Regions from separate parts of the Homo sapiens genome. Here region 2 is linked to region 1. The links are contacts of gene promoters, found by promoter capture Hi-C in human tissues and cell types (Jung and others, 2019). All regions are on one chromosome and are shown on one strand. Each heading gives the region's core, a stretch centred on a gene start or on the middle of the fragment in contact. The rest is flanking DNA. Distances are from core to core; before and after follow the strand shown.

Region 1 (4,551 bases), core at 2,002-4,501:
TTCCTCTCTTGCTCGTGGATATAACTCAAGATGGTTGCTGTTTAAATTTGAACACCTTAAATAAATGGCTCTTTTTGCAACTGGAAGCACAATTTTTGCACAGCTAGAAAAATCTTTTTCCAACACAGAAATTCCCAGTGCAGTTTTCTAAGAAACCCCCTACGATACGCAGCACAGCAGGCTCACCACAAGGCACATCAATCATTTTACTGTGTATCAGGCACCTCTTACAGGATTTTCTGTGATCCTGGTGTCAGTGCACATTCTGTATCAAGGCAGAGATGATATGTAGAAATCTGGCAGCTATTTAGAAGGGAGGCTGGGCAGTGGTGTGCCAGTATAATTAATGAGAGTCATCGCTTAGGAAATGAAGAGGGTGGGGGTTGGGAAGGATGCCTTTCACCATTCAATGGCATTTAAGAAAAATTGATGCTTTCTTAGCACTTTTAATGCTGGGAGGACATTAAGTCAAAGAATCACAGCAAAAGATTTTTGTAACTACTGTACAGATGGATGTCCCTGTGCTTGAAGAGGCAGGGCTAATTCAACCCCAGACTTTTCAGCCAGGCGGATTTCAACCTTGTATTGAGCTACCAGCAGGAGTTCTTTATACTTGGAAAAGTGGTAAATCCTTACTAAAAGATCATAGCTTGCATGACCAAGAGATCCTCTAGAAAAGGTACTTTACTACCATGTAGGATGTTTGTCTTACCTGCCCAAAGAAGTTTTAATGAAGATCTCATTTTCTCCAGTTCCCCTTTAACCAGTGAAAGAGGAGGGTATTATTTGTTTTGTTTTTCTATTTATTCTTTGGTAACCATGGAAGAGTTTGTGTAACCTAGAGAGGCTGCTTATTACCCACTGTCTAATCCCTTTGTTATTATTCCATACTCTGATTGTCACAAGCAGGAAAAATAGTTCTGTCCTGCTTCTAAAAACTTAGCAATGTAACACATTTTCTTGTTTTTAGTGATTTTCTCCAATTAATTAATTAATTGTTTTAGTGATTTTTCTCAGATAAATAATGTTAAAACGACTTGGAGAGAAAAGCTACATTAAAAGATTATGGATGTATAAATGTCCTAAACATTTAAGAACATGCATAATTATGATTCATACCAACTTCAGAATTATTACCTTTGGGAAGGGGTGGGGGTAACGAGTCAGGAGTTGGGGTTTAGCTATATCTGTAATGCTTTATTTAAAAAAGAAGGGCTGGGGGGAGCAGGAGTATTACATGGTATATATCCTGTTTTTGGTAGGTTTGAAATATCACACAATTTAAAAATTTAAAAGTTTACAAAATTATGGGAGTTGATTAAAACTATCAAAATAAAGAATGCATAGCAAACAAGTGCTCTTATTATGAACTTTGTGTCTGAGTTTATTTCAACATGTGCATCTGCATTTTTTCAGACTCAAGAAAGACAAACACCGGAGGTTAGGGGGTGAACTGCTGCTGTTGAGGGATTATCTTGGTGGTTTTTTTTTTTTTTTTTTTTTTTTTGGCTTTTCTATTCACCATGGAGGTTACCAGCAAAACAAATCTCCAACAAGCTTGTTTACAAAATATAAAGCAGTTTGGAGGCAGAGGGTTAATGACTTAATTTCTTATAAATTGAGGCTTGTGTATGGGCATGCAAAAAAACAAAAACAAAAACAAGTAAATTTGGGGAGGTTTCTTTCTATAGAGGCAAAGGACCTTACCTACATTTTTTCCAAATTGATTTCTTCCTGGTACTATTGGCAGGAAGAAATTCAAGTGGGTATTCTGGTGGCTTTTTTCTTTTTTCTGAGAGTCTAGGATTGTTTTCAGGACAAAGTTTCTTCTTGCCCATGGTGCTTTGCTGTGACATTGTAATTGCCTCTGTTGAATTGAATAATACAAATGGGTTGTTTCTATGGTATCGGCTAAGTGGGATGAAAAGGTGAAACCCTAGATCTTGCGCTGAGAGGTCACAGTGCTACCACCCTCCACACTGTCTGTCAAAGAGAACAGGCAGCCAAGGCCCTGAGCTCCAATCTCAGGCACTCATTTGTAACTTACTCGTTTGTAACTTCCTGGGCAAATTCACGCATGAAAAAAGAAAATGACTTTAGTTTATGTTGTCACTAAGCCCAGAAAATCCCTGCCAACCCCATGCTGCCAGCTTTCCTAGGACATTCTTATTGGAGGATTATTTTAAACTGAAAGGTGAGTGAAGAGCTGCGTCCCCACTCCTTCCCAGCCAGGCTTTGAACTAACAATAGGGCAGGTTGAATGAAGGCTGATAAATGTAAATCCTGGAATCCAGAAGCCGGATCACACCGCGGCCGTCTAGGCCAGCGGCGGTTCCAGCATCCGCCCCAAGCTGGTCACTCATCCTTTCAGTGCATTCAGTAGATTTCATCGTTTCATCAACACTTGAGTGCCTGCTTCGTGCAAGCTTTCCTCTGCCACCGCCGCCTTCTTACTCCCGGCAGGTTGCCCGCTTGAGTCAACCAGCCACTAAACGGATCTAAGTGAATAAGTGGCCTGTTAATGCCAAGGAGTAGCATTTCCAAATGAAGAGACTGGGGGTAAATAAAAGCAAAGTGTTACCATTTACACGCTCTCAATTTTAGTTGCACTTCACTCAGAGTAGATCTCTTTAATTTGCGGCATCGACAGATGCTATATTCTTAGAAATTTTTTTTTTTTAAAGGAGGTAAGACGGGCGTTTGAGAACACTTTTTACTTTGGTGCAAGTTGCACGCAGTTCCCATTCACTCAGAGTAGATCTCTTTAATTTGCGGCATCGACAGATGCTATATTCTTAGAAATTTTTTTTTTTTAAAGGAGGTAAGACGGACGTTTGAGAACACTTTTCACTTTGGTGCAAGTTGCACGCAGTTCCCATTCCCTGCGCCCTTCACTTCCAACTTTGTTTCTCCAACTCCTTTACCCCCCACCACCGAGGCCCTCTGGCTACAGCCCCGAGGGGTTACCCTGGGTTTCGAAACTTTTGAAACTTGCGGGGGAGTAAAAGTACTTCATTCCCAGTGCTTCTGGCCCTTGCCAAGCGGGGAGCCCCGCAGGAGAGTGTAAGCCAAGGGTTCCAGGTGCAGCCTTGGGGTTCCACGTGCAGCCCTAGGGTTCCGTACACCCATCCCGCCCGGGCCAGAGGAGGCAGCAGGCGCTCCAGTCCGCTCTCCGCAACTCCAGTTCCTGATTTCCTCGGAAGCTGCGGGGCCGAGAGGGAGGGGGGCTCCTGTGTGAGCGTGAGGATTTGAATGAGAAAGCAGGTTGTGGCGGCGGCGCCCTGCTCTTCCCCGCTCGTCTGGGGCTTCTGCTGGCTAGTGGGGAGAAGTGCTCTTCTAGGGGGGCTTTTCTGGCCCTTGGCAGGGGTTTGGAGTTGGAGTCACAGGGGCCAATAACTCATCACCCCAGCACTTCGGAGGTGGCTCCTTGTGCCACGGACTCCGAGGAGTCCTTCAGCTACTGAACACTCAAAGCTGAGGAGGTCAGTGCTTTCGGGGGAAGAAGGGGCCCAGGAGAGAAGGGGGTGTGCAGGAAAAAGAGAACTGGTACGCCAGTCCGATGAGCGAGTGAGCAGGTGGCCCAAGTTCCTTTCTCGGCAGCCACAGCCGGCACACGCCTGTTTAGGACTGTGAGTGCTGTGCGTGGGGATCCCCTAAGGCCCCGTGCGGGGAACTGGCCACGGCCGCTCTTCAGGGTCCCATAATTCAGAAGGATGAGGGTGGGTGTGTGTGTCCGCGAAATAATGTAACTCTCGGGTCCCTTGCGGTGGTGGTGGGTGGCGTTTCGCCCGGTGGAAGGTCCAGCCTCGCTGCAGGATGCTTCACCCTCACGCGGGGTCCCGGGACCCTCTCTCTGACCGCCAGACGCCGCCAGGAGAGCAGGTCCGCGTTTCCCAGCAAGGGGAGTGCAGCGTCCGTTACACTTGGGGAGTCTCACAGCTTTTCCTGCGCCCGGTGACCCTGCTCAGGACCTCTTAGAGACTAGGTGTGCTCAGCGCGAGGAGGATATACTCCATTGCCCTTTCCTGGGAAGAACCAAGAGCGCCCGAGCGGCGCGGGGTGGTGGAGGCAAACCCCGGCCCCGCGGCGGCACGCTCTGCGCCTGCGCGGCGTTTCCTTGGCGACTGAGCTGCGGGTCCGAGACGCCACCCCGCGAGCCCCTAAACCCAGTTCCCTGTTGAGCGTCTGCGACGCCCTCTCCCCTCCTTCCCGAGGCTTTTTCTATTTGTTTCCTTCTGCGAATCAATTTGTGATCACATTTTGACGTTGAGAGTTCAGCATTAAAGCAATAACCAACTAAATTAAAAAAAAAAACCCAACTTTTCCCTTCCCTTGTTACCGTTTTGATCACGGACAGAAGAAAATGGTGAGAGATTAGTTATTAGGGCAGCAATTGAAATCCCCCTCTGTCCCGAAAAGGGGAGACGAATAAAACATTTACTTCCTGGTAAGGAGTTAGAAAATTCAGTGAAGTGATTGTTCTCGAGCGTTACAAGAACAAATCTGTGCCTCCTAACCCAGGTGAAGAGCAGAGCTTGTACAACCCAGCAG
Region 2 (4,761 bases), core at 412-2,911, 1.0 Mb after region 1:
ATGTCATAAGGAACTCATAATTGATGTTATCAACTACCGCCTCTCTTTATTCTAACTCTTCTTCTAAAGGAGCAGATTATATGCTTCCTAATTCTTTTTTGGATATTTTAACTAAGCTGTCCCTTAAGCTTTAAGGCCAGGAAAACACACACACACACACACACACACACACACACATGCACATGCAATTAAAAGTGTTAGGTTGAGGCCGGCGCGGTGGCTCATGCCTGTAACCACAGCACTTTGGGAGGCCAATGTGGGCGGATCACAAGGTCAGGAGTCCGAGACAAGCCTGACCAGCATGATGAAACCCCGTCTCTACTAAAAATACAAAAATTAGCAGGGCGTGGTGGTGTGCGCCTGTAATCCCAGCTACTTAGGAGGCTGAGGCAGGAGAATCGTTTGAACCTGGGAGACGGAAGTTGCAGTGAGCCGAAATCGGGCCTCTGCACTCCAGCCTGGGCGACAGAGCATGACTCAAAAAAAAAAAAAAAAGTGGTAGGTTGACATCTCCTTGAGTCAAAAGTGGTAGGTTGACATCTCCTTGAGTCATTAAGTATATTTTTAAAATTTGCATAACAAAACTCTATTTCTGAAGTAACTTTGACATTGAGAAACCTTTTATTCAAAAAAGTTTTCTGGACTCTCCACAGAAGCACTCAAGAAAAACTTATATTATTAGTCCTATTCTGTAGATGACATATTCTAAGATAACAAAATATATACATTTTCTCCTCTCAAGAGTGTAAATAAGAATGACATCATAAACTCATAAAAATATTTAAATATTCCTTCAAATAAAAAATTTAAAGGTTACCAATACATCTTATGTCTTATTTATAAACCTACATCTTTTTGTGTCTAGTCTCAGTGTATTCAAAACACCTCATATTTCATTTTGCTAACCTTGAAAAATAATACCCTTCTAGTAGTCTTTCTTCTAGAAATAGTATAGAAAATTAGATAACATACTGCTTTTCTCAACACAATATTCTAAATATCTTCTTATGGTTTAATTCTCTCTAGTACTTCACTTTCATGGCAGCTCTCCTCTCTATCCATGAAGTCCCCTCATCAGCACGTTTCCCTCATCCCCTGTGTATTAGTCTGTTTTTTATGCTGCTGATAAAGACATACTGGAGACTGGGTAATTTATAAAGAAAAAGAGGTTTAGTGGACTCACAATTCCATGTGGCTGGGGAGACCTCACAATCATGGCAAAAGGTGAAAGGCACGTCTTCCATGGCAGCAGGCAAAAAGAGAATCAGAATCAAGCAAAACGGATTTCCCCTTATAAAAACCATCAGAACTCGTGAGACTTATTCACTACCATAAAAGTATGGGGAAAACTGCCCCCGTGATTCAATTATCACCCACTGGGTCCTTCCCACAATGCATGGGAATTATGGGAGCTACAATTCAAGATGAGATTTGGGTGGGGACACAGCCAAACCATGTCACTCTCCTGCTCTGCCTCTTGTCCTCTGCTCCTCACACTCAGTTTCTCACCCTTCCCCACCAACAGAGTCCACATAGATGTGCTTTCATTTCCCTGCTCTGATCACTTATTGTAAGAAGAACAGCTCTTCTGAAATTCAGGTGAATAAAATTCCCTAATCTCTTAAATATCATAATACAGAATATGATGGATTACCTAAAGAGGAAAACAGACCAATGAAATTCACTATGGAAAAATCACTTTGGATTGAACTTTGAGGAAAGGTTTTGTCAGGAAGAGAGAATCTGATCAGCCAGAGGAAGGAGGATAAGAAATAGCTAAGATGAGATAAGCAGAGAGAAAGCATTCTAGGTGAGATGTTTATGAGTAATATTGCACAAATCAGGAATGAATGTGGAGTTCGGCAGACATTTAATTCTGATGGATTTAAGGAAGATGGCCATGGTAGACAGTATTGAAAAATTAGCTGTACATTTAAAATGCCAAAAACAGTTACATTTCCATCTTTTAGGTCATGGCAGGTATTATTATTGCAGGTGTTTGTTGCTAAGTGACACAATGGGAATAATGTAGTAATGGAGAAATTAGAGAGGGGAGAAGTGAAGAGTGATATCCTAAAAGCTAAAGCAGTTGTCTCTGGCATGAAATCATGAAAGGCTGAGATGAGAGGTATGGATGAAATGGAAAAGAAGCAGCTTCTGTCTTCTTCTTTTCATTTCATCAAGAAATGAGTCAGCTGGCTCATTTAATAAGCACAGTATCACAATAGTTATTTAAATTATTCATTTCTATAGGGACCCAAATAATAAAAAGAAAACTAATCATTTTTTTTCTCTTTTTGGCATTCCTATTCCTACCTAGAAAAGAAACAAGAGACAAAGTAATTTGATGACTAAATGTATGTATTTTTTATTTTACATTTTTAGATTTGTTAGTATAGAAAAGTTGATGAAATGTTAACTAACCTAAAGTCACTTTTGGCTTACTTTTTTTTGCTTTTATTATTTTCAATTGACACATAATTATACATATTTACAAGGTTCAGTGTGCTATTTTGACACAGGTATACAATATGTAACGATCTCAAATCAGGGTAATTAGTATATTCATCACCTCAAGCATGTATTATTTCCTTGTGTTGGGAATGTTCAAAATCTATTCTTCTAGCTAGTTGAAAATACACAATTAATTTTTGTTAATTACAGTCACCCCATAGTGCTATTCAATGCTAGAACTTATTCTTCCTATCTAGGTGTACTTTTGTAAAGCCATATTTTTTCCAATTTTTATTTCAGATTCGGAGGGTACATGTGCAGGTTTGTTAGCTGGGTAACTGTGTGATGCTGAGTTTTGGGGTACAAATGATCCTGTGACCCAATAATGAGTTTTTCAACCCTATCCCCATTCCTCCTTCCCTTTTCTAGTAGTTCCTGCTTCTATTGTTCTCTTTATGTCCATGAGTACCCAATATTAGGCTCCATTTATAGGTGAGAACATGTAGTATGTGGTTTTCTGTTTCTGTGTTAATTCACTTAGGATAATGGCCTTCAGCTCTTTCCATGTTGCTTCAAAGGACATGATTTCATTCTTTTTTATGGCTGTGTAGTATTCCATGGTGTATGTATACCACTCTTTCTTTATCCAACCCACCATTGATGCACCTAGGTTGATTCCATGTCCTTGTTATTGTGAATAATGCTGTGATGAACATGTGAGTGTATGTGTTTCTTTGTTAGAACAATTTGTTTTCTTTTGGATATACATCCAGTAATAGGGTTACTGGGTCAAATGGTAGTTATCTTTTTAAGTTCTTTGAGAAATCTCCAAGCTGCTTTCCACAGTAGCAGAGTCACCCCCCACCCTTTTTTTTTTTTTTGCTATATAAAATCTGAGTAAGATAACAGACTATTGGAAGTGTGGAAGAAATTGGGCCCATTTTCAGCTCACTGAGTATTTACAGAATGCCTGAGAATATTGCTTTTTTAAATCTAAGGCTGCAAATTTCAGCACTCTAGGACTTTGGCAGAATAATGAATCATCATTTTCTGTATCTTGCTTTTGTTGCTATTTGAAAATAGACCAGCCACGTTATAGTAAATATCTTAAATGTACATGTGCAATTCAATAACAACTTTACTATGACACATACTCATATTCTTTACTATGACACATACTCATATTCATTGAAGATATTTTGATTAAAAGTCTTAGAAGGAATTTGTTCATTCATCGCGGTATTTCCCTATAGAGTTATTGGTTTAATGACCAACAGTGCAGTAATTATCATTCCAGTGTCAATGAAAGGAAAATATTTTGCTTTCAACTAGAAAGCATTTTATAACTCAGTCAGATGTGGGTGTATATACCTATGCAAGCATGAGTAAAGAGGAGAGAGACAGATTATAAAGAATTTTAGATTGCTTTGCCAAATTAATGTCATTAAGCTTACTTATGAGACGAAGGCATAGAGTGCCTGGAGGTGTTATGCTCAGCTGGTCACAGGAGAGTGCTAGAGTACCATTAAATTTCCTGCTCTAAAATAACTGAAAGAAATCATGTGCCAGAGAATGACTTAATGCACTTGGGTGAGCTTTGCCTTGCAGGGTTGATGGAAAGAAATAATAACACATGCTGGTAGAAATTATAGTAGAATGCCAAATCTACCTCATAACATCTCCAGATGTTAAGAACAGAATGATAAAGTGTGACAGAATTATCTTGTGCTACAATTATTTTAATCTTTGCAGTGCTATTATAAAAGATTTCAATTTTGTCAAATTACCCTCTGCATTTTAAAATTCTTTTTCAGCTAGCTCTTAACAGTTTTACTAAATTGTCCTACATTCTTTGCAGGCAGCATCCTCTTGAGCCAGTGGGAATGCAATATGTGGGTCTGGGCTGCATTTAATGACCTTGTTCTCCTTGGCATAAAAGCAAAATAACAGAGGTGTGACTCTGAGTCCTTGGTAACAGAAATACTTTGCAGTCATATGTTTCTTTCATAGAATTTTAATATCGTTATGCATCACAATTCTTTTTTATGGCTTAGAAAGATGAACAATATGTGATTCTTGTTTTCTGGACAAAAACACTAAATCACCTCAGAATCCAAAAGAATTCATGTCAGCAACTGCAAGAACTGCAAGCACATTTTCAGACCTCTAGATTCTGCTAGCGAAAATAATGCTGCTTCATCCAATTTAATCATCAGTTTTATAAGGATCATTGTCTGAGAATAAATTCACACTTAAGAGTGCTGAGTAACATAATCAGGCATGATAATCCACTAAGCATGGGGGACC

Evidence for each region. Contacts are between HindIII fragments. The study calls those that stand out against the background at their distance.
Region 2: a fragment that was not itself captured here is called in contact with the fragment with the promoter of PLCH1 in region 1 in 1 of the 25 tissues and cell types used here (mesenchymal stem cells).

The regions. Positions count from the first base shown.
Region 1 is chr3:155,743,771-155,748,321 of GRCh38, reverse strand. PLCH1 (phospholipase C eta 1) reads left to right here and starts at 3,251. Exons shown (of 23, transcript NM_014996.4): 1 at 3,251-3,482. RefSeq lists enhancers at 3,289-3,498, 3,393-4,014. The HindIII fragment of the contact is 7,162 bases long and covers 1,993-4,551 here.
Region 2 is chr3:154,729,635-154,734,395 of GRCh38, reverse strand. No RefSeq gene overlaps it. Among named protein-coding and RNA genes, the nearest start is that of GPR149, 300 kb to the right of the region's middle. The HindIII fragment of the contact is 5,824 bases long and covers 1-4,573 here.